Linked DNA regions of Homo sapiens: region 1 is linked to region 2. Evidence: promoter capture Hi-C in human tissues and cell types (Jung and others, 2019). All regions are on one chromosome and are shown on one strand. The core of a region is centred on a gene start or on the middle of the fragment in contact, and the rest is flanking DNA. Distances in the headings are between cores, read along the strand shown. Region 1 overlaps DCDC2 (doublecortin domain containing 2). Region 2 holds the start of MRS2 (magnesium transporter MRS2).

Evidence for each region. The method cuts DNA at HindIII sites, captures the fragments that hold promoters and counts their contacts. A contact is called where the count stands out against the background at its distance.
Region 1: a contact is called between a fragment that was not itself captured here and the fragment with the promoter of MRS2 in region 2, in 1 of the 25 tissues and cell types used here (liver).

The regions. Positions count from the first base shown.
Region 1 is chr6:24,337,882-24,344,068 of GRCh38, forward strand. All of the region lies in intron 2 of DCDC2 (doublecortin domain containing 2), which reads right to left. Among named protein-coding and RNA genes, the nearest start is that of KAAG1, 16 kb to the right of the region's middle. The HindIII fragment of the contact is 4,746 bases long and covers 1,430-6,175 here.
Region 2 is chr6:24,399,274-24,405,077 of GRCh38, forward strand. MRS2 (magnesium transporter MRS2) reads left to right here and starts at 3,663. Exons shown (of 11, transcript NM_020662.4): 1 at 3,663-3,963. The coding sequence starts at 3,774. RefSeq lists enhancers at 620-1,355, 1,356-2,091, 4,300-5,034 and silencers at 1,068-1,362, 2,248-2,542. The HindIII fragment of the contact is 9,320 bases long and covers 1-5,804 here.

The DNA of each region.
Region 1 (6,187 bases), core at 2,553-5,052, 61 kb before region 2:
TTATATATTTTATCCTTCTTATCATCATTAAATCAAGGTATTAAAAAATTTTAAAACCCTTCACTCCCACAAACATCCTTTCAAGTGCAAAAAGACACTGAATGATCATCTTTTAATTAAATTGCATTAATTCTTAGGAAACGCTTCCTTCTGCATTAACACACAATACATGAACACACAGTCCCTCATCTGTGAGCTCTTGAGAAACATGTTTTCATTATCAATTTCCTCCCATGTAAAATCAGAATAATAACAATCCCTACTTCATAAGGTTGTTGTGAGGATTATATCATCTTTGTAAAGTACTTAGAACAACACTGACTAAACACATATCAAAGAAATACATACACACACATGTGCACATGCACAAACACTCACAGTGAGTTCCAGTTTTGTGCATCTTCTAACATTTAGGCTGGCTCAATATTCAAAAGTTAATGCTTCAAATATCTCTGCCTGTCACCGCCATTAAAAAAAAACAACAACTGTATTCCCTGTCTTCACGAAAGGGAATGCCATCTATCCAGTAGCCCAGGCCAGAAACTCAAAAATCATCCAGCTAATCTTTCTTCATTACCCCACATCCACTCAATCACTAAGCTCTGTTTCTCAAATCTAATCCTTCCACCATCTCAACAGCCTCTCCCATCATGAGTGGCACATTTACCTCCAACACATGGTCGCCTGGCCTCCAACCTTGCTGTAGCAATAAGAGTCATTGTGTCAATTCCCTGATGAAATCCCTTCAATAGCTTTTGGTTGGTTTTATTTATTTAATTTGAGACAGAATTTCACTCCTGTTGCCCAGGCTAGAGTGCAATGGTGTGATCCCAGCTCACTGCAAACCTCTGCTTCCCAGGTTCAAGTGATTCTCCTGACTCAGCCTCCCAAGTAGCTGGGATTACAGGCACACACCACCACGCCCAGCTAATTTTTGTATTTTTAGTAGAGGGGGTTTCACCATGTTGGCCAGGCTGGTCTCAAACTCCTGACCTCAGGTGATCCGCCCACCTCAGCCTCCCAAAGTGCTGGGATTACAAGTGTGAGCCACCATGCCCAGCAGCTTTTGGTTGGTTTTAGGAAAAAGATAAATTACTTTTTAAAACCCCTGATGTTGGTACCTCTCTACCTCCCATGCCTTATCTCTCACATAGTTCCATTCCCAACCTTCTATCCCAACCTCTTCCCGTGATTCAGCCAAACAGCACATGTATGTTTCTCAAATGTACCCTGTGCTCTCTCATCTGCAGACATTCACACATGTCATCTCCTTTGCCTGCAATGCTCTTCCTCCTTCTGCTTGCCTGGTGAACATACTCATTCCCTTTAGGTCACAACGTATATATCATTTCTTCCAGGAAGCTTCTGAGGATTCCCCTGGCTTATGGTAGCCATCCTTCCAGCAGCCTGTGCCGCCTGTATCCTCCCACACAGCACACTTCGGATAGCTTGCGTACGGCCCCATCTTCTCCACTACACAGCCAGCTTCAGGAAAGCTTGCCTTGTCTGATATATTCACCATTGCAAATCCAACTAACATAATGCCTGGCACATAAACTGGTGCTCATATCATTTTTTTGATGAAAGAATTTGTGATGTTAATTTTTTACCACCAAAACGTGAGAGCCATAAATTTGTGACTAGTGTCATTCCCTTGGGGTCCAAACCCTCCCACATGAAAGAAGGCTTAAAATAATAGCAGAGACCATAGATCAATTCATCTGCAGACTCCTCTTCTCCAATTGCTGCCAACAAAACCATCTTTGTAATCCTTTAGGATCACTTTGATGGAGTACTAGGAGAGTGCCATTATGATTTTATAATTCTGTCTGTGTACTCAGAGTAATTACATGGTGCCTGGGACACACAAGCTAAACTAACATTGTTACAGGTTAAAATGTGGACATCTAACCAAGATTGTCTATGAATGGATATATTTATAATAAGTGTTGGATGGGTCTTTTGACACCAAATTTGATGCACACATCAAAATTGATCCACTAACTTGATGCTATAAGATAGAGAGAGCAAAGGGAATTCCTAAAGAGATGGAAAATTATCATTTGAATATGATTATACATAAGGAAATGAATTGGTGAAGCGGTGGAGAGGAATAGAGTTTCGGAATAAATAAGAGTCACTAAGTAAAAATGCTGAAAATTCCCAGTAGACAATCACATTGCTTGGATTGCATTATATACATGTTCATGCAGAGATGAACATGTAGATGAATGTGCCCTGTGCTCTCTCATCTGCAGACGTTCACACATGCCATCTCCTTTGCCTGCAATGCTCTTCCTCCTTCTGTTTGCCTGGTGAACATACTCATTCCCTTTAGGTCACAATGTATACATCATTCCTTCCAGGAAGCTTCTGAGGATTCCCCTGGCTTATGGTAGCCTAATAGGTGAGGAAAGTCAAAGTTAATCAATATTATTGATAAAATTAATTAAAATAGAAATAACACAAGGGAATAGCAATCTGATTAGAAGAAGTACCGGCTAGCGGAAGGGCAATTTAATTCAATTTTCATATACTATTTGACTAAATTAAATATTAGTCAGTTGAGCCTTCATGCAAAACAAGCTATGCATTTGCAAAAGCCATACTAACAGAATGTATTTGCTGTAGTAAAAATATTTTTAATTGACACTTCTTTTTTTAATCCAGCTTTTAAAAACTAGCATGGAAGATCTAAAACTAGCTAATGCAAAATTTGTAATACTGGAAATCTAGTTATCCACTCGTTTCTAAGAAAACAAGCCATGAATATGGAGTTTTATCACTTAGAATATAATTAACAAAATGCAACTTGAATGATATTAGATGACTTATTTTCTAAAAAAAAAATTTTGTTTTTTTGAGACAATGTCTCACTCTGTCGCCCAGACTGGAGTGCAGTGGCAGGATCTTGGCTCACCGCAACCTCCACCTCCCCGGCTCAAGCAATTCTCCTACCTCAGCCTCCCGAGTAGCTGGGACTACAGGCACGTACCACTATGCCTGGCTAATTTTTGCATTTTTGGTAGAGATAGGGTTTCATCATGTTGGCCAGGCTGGTCTCAAACTCCTGACCTCAAACGATCCACCTGCCTTGGCCTCCCAAAGTGCTGGGATGACAGGCGTGAGCCATGGAACCTGGCCATTATCTAAAAATTTCTAAAAGTTGGCAGCCCAGTTACATATGGCTATGTAATTTGAAATAGCAAAGATGGCCATAGAGGTTCACAGATCTTTGAAACACAAACATACTCACTGCTAGAAAGAGGGAAAAAATACAAAGCAGCAGAGATTGCCATTTGAGATTTCCTAGAGAGAACAGTTCCAGGTTAAACATTAGACACTGCAAATATAAAAAGTCAATTTATTTGTCTCTCTCCCACGATCCTTCACCACTTAAAAGTTCTACCCCCAGCTAAGAGGTGGGCTGAAATCAACTTTATTTCAACAAACCAAACATCCAAACTATGTAATCATGGGATGACATCTGAGTTTGATCTGGCTGGCTGCTTATAAAGGAGGCTTTCACAATGATACATGGGAATTTTCATTGTTGACCAAGCTAGACACTAGGGCATACTGCCTGCATATTTCCTGCTGAAATCAGCCAAGTGCAAATAGAGACCTACCTTTTTTTAAAAAAAAAAAATGCCTCCATCCATCTGTTTTGAACTATACTGAAACTTATTTTATTTTACACATAAAGATAGGACTATTAGCCTCCTACTTTCGAGACATGGACCTTTTTAGTTGTTTTCTGAGTTCGGTCATAGATGTAGGCTGAATTACATGTATACTTTCCCACAAACCTTAACCAGTACCACATTTGAGAGGACAGCTGGTTATTTAGGGAACAGTCTGGGGCCAGGGACCTAGTAGATCTAAGAGTGGGATTCAAGCCCAAGTCCTTGGCCTCATTAGCACAGTGTTCTCACCAAACTACCCTTCCAAGAAAAGTCCAAAGATTTATTGCTGCTCTAGATCTTTGAAACAAAGTTTCCCAAAATCCAAAAATACTTCCCCAACAATCAGACATGTAAGAGGGCGCACGCATGTGTGCACGCGTACACACACACACACACACAAACACACAGAGAATTTGTTCTACATTAAAGAGAAATAAAATTTAAAGTGTTTAACCCAATAAGTTTCTATATCCTAATCAAATGTGAAAGCATCCTCACAGATGACTTCATATACTGGTTTCTTATTACTGACTCCTTTGGGCTTTACTTCCCTTATTCCTTTAATGCATCTTTGCTGGACATACAGTTAGTGGGGGAAAACTGAAACATCTCTTTAGGTGGTTGCTATGTCCGTCCAGGGTGCTATGCTACCTTCAGTTCTAAATATGAAAACCATACGGCAAAACAGGAATATTCCTCAAACCCTTTACTTTCACAGTGTTGCTTCAAATTGTGTTACTTTTTTGCTTAAACAATATTGACTGTAAGTCAGAAAATCACAGCATCGCATGTTTATTTGCATGGAAGAACTCTCTGAAACAGGAAATCAAGACAGGAGGTGTCAATACGGACTGCTGCCAGTCACTCCGGCAGTCTTCTTGCACCAGCCACTTCTCCGTGGAGTGTGGCAGCTGGGCAGCGCTCCTTCTGGGCTTCCACAGGAAGGCTCTGACCCCGAAAACCTTAGATTAGAGCGCATTTTGAAATTTAAATAAGCCTCAATTCACCTCTGCCATCTTGGCATACAACCGAAATGTGCAAGTCAGAAGAATGTATTTCTATTTAAAATAGATAGAAAGCAGGTATCACTCTTTCTCCTTCAGTAAGTTTTTAGTAGTCTCCAATTAAAAAAAAAAAAGGGTTTTCTTTCAAACCAACTCAAATTCACCAATCTTCACACAATATCTTAATGTTTTTTACCCCCATTTTGTTACCCAGCTATGATGTAGAGGGCTGATTACCACATTCTTTGTAAGTATTGAAGCCAATTATTAATTGGGTCTAAATAATACTTTTCTTCCCCTGGATTAATAATCTCTGATATTACTTTCCAACATTTTTACTCTTTTCATGTATCTTACCTTTTAAAACTCTTTAGAGAGTCCTCCTACAATTACCTTGTTGTCATTTCTGATTGGCACGTGAGTCTTTTTATATCTGCAGGCCTAGAATGTAGTCCACTGCCTGGCTCTTGGTAAATATTCTTTTTTTTTTTTTTTTTTTGAGACAGAGTCTCTTTCTGTCGCCCATACTGCAGTGGTGTGATCTCAGCTCACTGCAAGCTCCGTCTCCCGGGTTCACACCATTCTCCTGCCTCAGCCTCCGGCGTGGCAGAGATTACAGGCGTCTGCCACCATGCCCAGCTAATTTTTTGTGTTTTTTTTAGTAGAGACGGGTTTCACCGTGTTAGCCAGGATGGTCTCGATCTCCTGACTTCGTGATCCACCCACCTCGGCCTCCCAAAGTGCTGGGATTACAGGCGTCAGCCACCGTGCCCCGCCTAAATATTCTTGAGGAAATGTAAAATCATGCATGAGCAGCATTCAATAAAAAGTTGAATACAATTTATTTGTCTTCCCTGGCTAGACATTACTATTGATTTAGACACATTTTTCTATTATTTATACCATATGGAAATATACTTTCATCAAGACGAGTTCCTCTGATTTCACCAGAAAACTCAATAAGCTCATTCTAATAATTATCCTGAAATATAAATCTAAACATTGATTTTCTCACAAGTGCACAAGTATCTAAACTGCCATCAACCAAAAGCTTGATATACCTTGGCAGAATTTCAGATCATGCACTGTACTACACAGTCCTAAATTTCACCTTCTGTATTTCTGAATCTCATGCAATATAAGAACAAGCTCCTCTCAGTTCAATAGGTGTTGCTGTTCAATTGCCAAAAGGATCTTATTTTGGTCAGAATTTAAAAGAAAATCTGTATTGAGAATAGTTTGATATTTCAACTAAGTGGTATTTTATTTATTTTTAATTGACAAAATTGTATGTATTTATGGAGTACAACATAATTTTTTGATATATGGGCACGCTGTGGGATGATTAAATCAAGCTAGTTAACATATCTATCACCTCACATATTTATCACTTTTTGTAGTAGGAACATTTAAAAACTCATTTAGCAATTTTCAAATATACGGTATTATTAATTATAATCAACATGCTATGCAATAGATCTCCAGAACATATCCCTC
Region 2 (5,804 bases), core at 2,413-4,912:
AGGAGAATGGCGTGAACCCGGGAGGCGGAGCTTGCAGTGAGCAGAGATCACACCACTGCACTCCAGTCTGGGCGACAGAGCGAGACTTCGTCACAAAAAACAAAACAAACAAAAAAAAAACTGCTCCTTTCCAAAATTCCCTATCTCAGTAAATAGCACCAGCAAGGCCCTGCTGTTCGGGATACACATTTTGGAGCAACATCTATGCCTCTCTTTCTCTTATATCCCATCTGCAAATGTTGTCAACTCAGCCTTCAATATATGGTACCAAGCCCAACTCATCTTCCCCTCTCCACCATCCCCACCTTAGCCCAAACCATCATCACCATCTCTCTGCTTCCAATTGCCTCTCTGTAGTCTCTTTCCCACACAGCAAGAGTGACCCATTTAAACATAAATCAGATTGTTACCTCTGCTCATTACCTCTCTGCTCGAAGTCCTCCAATGGTTCCCACCCTTCTCAGAAAAATCTTTGCCACGAATTACGAGGCTGTACGTCTGGACAGGTTCCAGAGTTTTCCTTAGACTTTGCAAAAGTTATCTTAGAGCTGTCTCATTGTGCTGGGTGCAAATTTTGTTTTAAAGAGAAAGTTATCACATATTTTCTCAAAGAAGCATCTCTGAAGGCATGTAATATGTTTGAAATACTTATCTCATCATTAAAGCTTTAGTAAAATGAAAAATCTACCAGCCATGTTCTCTATACTCAGCGATTTTCCAGACTTCAACGCCCTGGAAGCAATGATTAAAGTTTTTCTTTGCCTTCAATTATCTGAAGGGTTGGGCTGCCCCTCCACACCTGTGGGCATTTCTCATCAGGTAGAATGAGAGACTTGGAAAAGAAAGAGACACACAGACAAAGTATAGAGAAAGAAAAATGGGCCCGGGGGACTGGCGCTCAGCATACAGAGGACCCGCGCCGGCACCGGCCTCTGAGTTCCCCTAGTATTTATTGATCATTATCAGGTGTTTCCTGGAGAGGGGGATGTGGCAGGACAATAGGATGATAGTGGAGAGAAGGTCAGCAGGTAAACACGTGAACAAATGTCTCTGCATCATAAACAAGGTAAAGAAAAAAGTGCTGTGCTTTTGATGTGCATATACATAAACATCTCAATGCCTTAAAGAGCAGTATTGCTGCCAGCATGTCCCACCTCCAGCCCTACGGCGGTTTTCCCCTATCTCAGTAGATGGAATATACAATCGGGCTTTACACTGAGACATTCCATTGCCCAGGGACAAGCAGGAGACAGATGCCTTACTCTTATCTCAAATGCAAAGAGGCGTTCCTTCCTCTTTCACTAATCCTCCTCAGCACAGACCCTTTACGGGTGTCGGGCTGGGGGACGGTCAGGTCTTTCCCCTCCCACGAGGCCATATTTCAGACTATCACATGGGGAGAAACCTTGGACAATACCTGGCTTTCCCAGGCAGAGGTCCCTGCGACCTTCTGCAGTGTTTTGTGTCTCTGGGTACTTGAGATTAGGGAGTGGTGATGACTCTTAACAAGCATGCTGCCTTCGAGCATTTGTTTAACAAAGCACATCCTGCACAGCCCTTAATCATTTAACTCTGAGGTGACATAGCACATGTTTCAGGGAGCACAGGGTTGGGGGTAGGGTTACAGATTAACAGCATCTCAAGGCAGAAGAATTGTTCTTAGTACAGAACAAAATGGAGTCTCTTATGTCTACTTCTTTCTACACAGACACAGTAACAATCTGATCTCTCTTTCTTTTCCCCACATTATCAAGTCAAACATCCTCTCTTCTGTGAAGGCTTCTCTTTGTGCACTGCCCTCCTACTCCATCCCCAGTCCCAGTACCCTGCAGAATAAAATGTTTCTATCTCTGTCTCCTTAGCTTTGTGTCCATACATAGATATTGAAAGGAAGTCTGTGGAACTTGTGTCTGCCTTGTATTACTACTGTGGAAGGGACAATAAATTTATTAACTCATATTTTTAAAATATGCATACATACTGTATTTAACCTAAGACTTTTTTCATATTTTAAAGACTGGAATTGAGATATGTCTTTCAATCTACATGTTTAGAAAGCATAACTTATCAGTTTTTTTTTCTTTCTTGGTGGTACATAAAATAATGGTACCTTAAAATTGATGCTATCTTACATTTTATTAAATATGGAATAGAAATCTTATGTGTCTGTGCTCCTCATTCTTTATAGCAAAAGTTTAATACATGACATCATTCCATATGACAGTTGATTATTTTTGCCACTACTGGGGCTCAAACCATAATACCCCAAAATATGATGTTTTGGCATGCTGAGTCTTTGGGGTTTGTTTGTTTTGAGATGGGAGTCTCACTCTGTCGTACAGGCTGGAATGCAGTACAGGCTGGAATGCAATGGCATGATCTGGGCTCGCTGCAACCTCCACCTCCTGGATTCCAGCAATTCTTATGCCTCAGCCTTACAAGTAGCTGGGATTACAGGCACCTGCAACCACACCCGGCTAATTTTTGTATTTTTAGTAGAGACGGGTTTTGCCATGTTGGCCAGGCTGGTCCTGAACTCCTAACCTCAAGTGGTCCACAACATTGGCCTCCCAAAGTGCTTGGCTCCCAAAGTGCTGGATTACAGGCATGAGGCACCACGCCCGGTGGCATGTTGAGTCTTTGAATTAAAGGAAATTAAAAGGGTCTCAGAAAGAAGCCTAAAAATCAAGGCCTCTCTCTCTCACCTTCCCCCTTCCTTTTGTCTCTCTGATACTCTTACTTTTTCCAAGCACCTGAAGGGGCTCTCTTTTCCTGCACAGCCAGATAAGGAATTTCCTTATCTGACAGAGAAAACTCTTTTCCAAAGAAATGCAATTGTCTTAAAACCCGTTCCTTAGGAATCGCATTAAATAATCAGAAGAGATTAATCACCCAGAGAAGAGACAAAAACTGAAAGTCATAGCCACACTGAGACTTTTCATAGATACTTCTGAGGGTAGCTCCAAGAGATTACCTGGGAAACTTTACCTGTATAATAGGACAATTTTTGTTCAGAGTGAAGTTTCACAGCTTGTCCACAAGCGATTGTTTGTACTTCTGTCCCACTGAATGTCCAAGGAGAATCATTTGCAAACCACTGTCTGGCTTTCGGGCCCATTCATACCTATCTCCCTCTACTCAACAAAGAAGGGTATACAAGCATCTGGACCTTAATTGAGTTATTGAGTAATCACTCTTCTGTGATTTTTCCCTATGCACGTTAAGCAAATTTTGTATGCCTTTTTCTCCTGCTAATCTGTCTACTTAGTTCATTCCAGCAACTTTCAGAGGGCAAAAGTAGGAGCTTTCCCTCTTGCTCCCTACACCACGTTAAATTTAAATATAAATTAAATGATGTGGGAATGGGTAACCTGCTCATTTCCAAACTGCAATTTTCATAGGTATGAAAATTCTCCACAAACTACAAAACCATGACACTCCAAGCGCCCAAGAACCTAGGTTGGACAGCTCACTTAGTGCAGGTAAACGTGCTCCACCCATCTCCCAGCCCGCCTGCCCCCTCACTTAGGTACAGGTGCAGGTACAGGTAGGCAAGCAAACGTCTATTGGCTGTGGACTTAACAGGCTCGCCCACAGGTACCTTCCGAGCATGCGTGGGGAAGTAGCACGCAGGCGCGGCACGCCCCGCGCATGCCTGGTGCACAGAGTCTGCAGGTCGGGCGGTAGCGACAGGTCAGAGCTGCGGCCTGAGCAGCCAGCGTCCGGCATGAAGGTCTGGGGTCTGGCTGCTGCCTGCTTCTTGCTCCAGCACCATGGAATGCCTGCGCAGTTTACCCTGCCTCCTGCCCCGCGCGATGAGACTTCCCCGGCGGACGCTGTGTGCCCTGGCCTTGGACGTGACCTCTGTGGGTCCTCCCGTTGCTGCCTGCGGCCGCCGAGCCAACCTGATTGGAAGGAGCCGAGCGGCGCAGCTTTGCGGGCCCGACCGGCTCCGCGTGGCAGGTACTGCCCTTCCCCGGCAACAGCCTTGGGACGCTGGTCTTGCAGTGACCTTAGACTGCTGCCCCAGCCGTCCGGCGCGGCGCGCCTGTTGCTCCGCGCCCTCCGCAGGCCTCGGCCTCCCGCGTGTCCTGTGAGCTTGCACAGGCCCGCGGGCCGAGCTGCGTCCCACTCGCTCAGAATGCGACCTTGCTATGTGCGCTGTGCCCTGCCGGGGTCCCAGCGGCCAACCCTCTGCCTTCTCCTCCACCGCCCTTGCTGCAGATTATGTAACCATAGGAACAACCTAGGAATCGTTTACAGACCGTGATCACGTTAGTTAACACCCGCTTAAGTGCTCTTGTAAGAGGTTTTTTCTGTGTTGTTTTTGAGACAGGGTCTTACTATGTTGCCCAGGCTGGACTCAAACTCCTTGCCTCGAGCCATCCTAACGCATTAGCCTCGCAAAGCGCTGGGATTACAGGCGTGAGCCACCACACCTGGCCGAGAGGTGTTTTTAAACAAGGATTTCATCTGTTCGGAAGTCATAAGTATAAATTAATACTTCCCTGTTTTCTGTTTCTTCGTTATGGACACATTTATACAGTTGTCCAGTTGCACGGAGATTGGGGACGCACCTAGAAGTGAGGCTAAAGACTGAGTTGTTTCTGAGAACGACTTACTTTCAACTACAGTACTCTATAAGTAAACAGCCAGGGAGATCGGATTGAGAAAAAAAAATCTTATTTGCTGTTTATTTTTTCACCAAATGTTGAAGCATGGTGAAAAGTTAAGATTTTCACAAATGTGAGTGCAAATATTTGAGGAATAAAAGGTATTGAAATGAATGACTTTATTAAGAACATAGCAGTGTCCTCAAATATGTTTTCTCAATTGTGCTCTCAAAAGCCTCCCAAAGTAACTCCTCGTCAGCACCTCATTCTCCACTTATTGGAGAGGCTAAGTTGGGTTACATGCTCTGCACCCTCAATTGATAATGCTTGGGAATCCAGTTTCAGCAAGTTGGAGGAAACTTTTAGGACAAGCATTGACGTTCACAATCTCAATCCCGGTTACACTCTAATTTGTGACATTAAAACATTGAAAGGCATTTGTAATCAGCAAATGCCTTTTACCTTTATTCATCTTACCCTTATAGTGATAATTTGTATTTTGTAAAAGGGAAATGAAACTTCAGATACTAACAAATTACAACAATCATTACGTGTATGTAGTAGAAAAAAGATCAGAAATAGGTTTTTTTTTCTACAGTCTCTGGAATCAGTGTAATTACTTTGGAAGCACAAAACAGTGTCCTCTGTCAGTCATTAAATGTACTTGATTATACTTCACCGCTCACTTCGACTCAGTCTAATCACGTTTTAAATAGACAATTTTAAAATAAAGATTTGTCATTTCAGCTCAGTGGGGGTATTTCATAAGTATTCACTATAAAGGATATCTGTAGAAAAGAAGTAAAATCATAGGTTTCATAATTTATGAGCCAGTCAACTGGAATGCTTGAAAGATCAGGTGGTACTTAGGACCTATGTTTTCTAAAATGTATCTACTACCAAATGTGCATGAAGAGTCTTTTAAATTATGCGAAAAGGAAGACCAGACATTTTCTTAAATCTCAGAACACGATGTTGCACATTTGTTCATCCAACTCTGAGATATCAGTAATAATTAGAAAGGTAAAAGGGTGATTGGAATCCATCAGTTATTTTAATGCCTCACCTAAGCCATTAGTTTTAAAAATCATTCCCTGCCAAACCTAAGATAGTCACTAACAGATGTTAAAATTAAGAAGAGTATTTCTTCTTTTCTTATAGGAAAAATATTTAAAAATAATAAAATAGTCT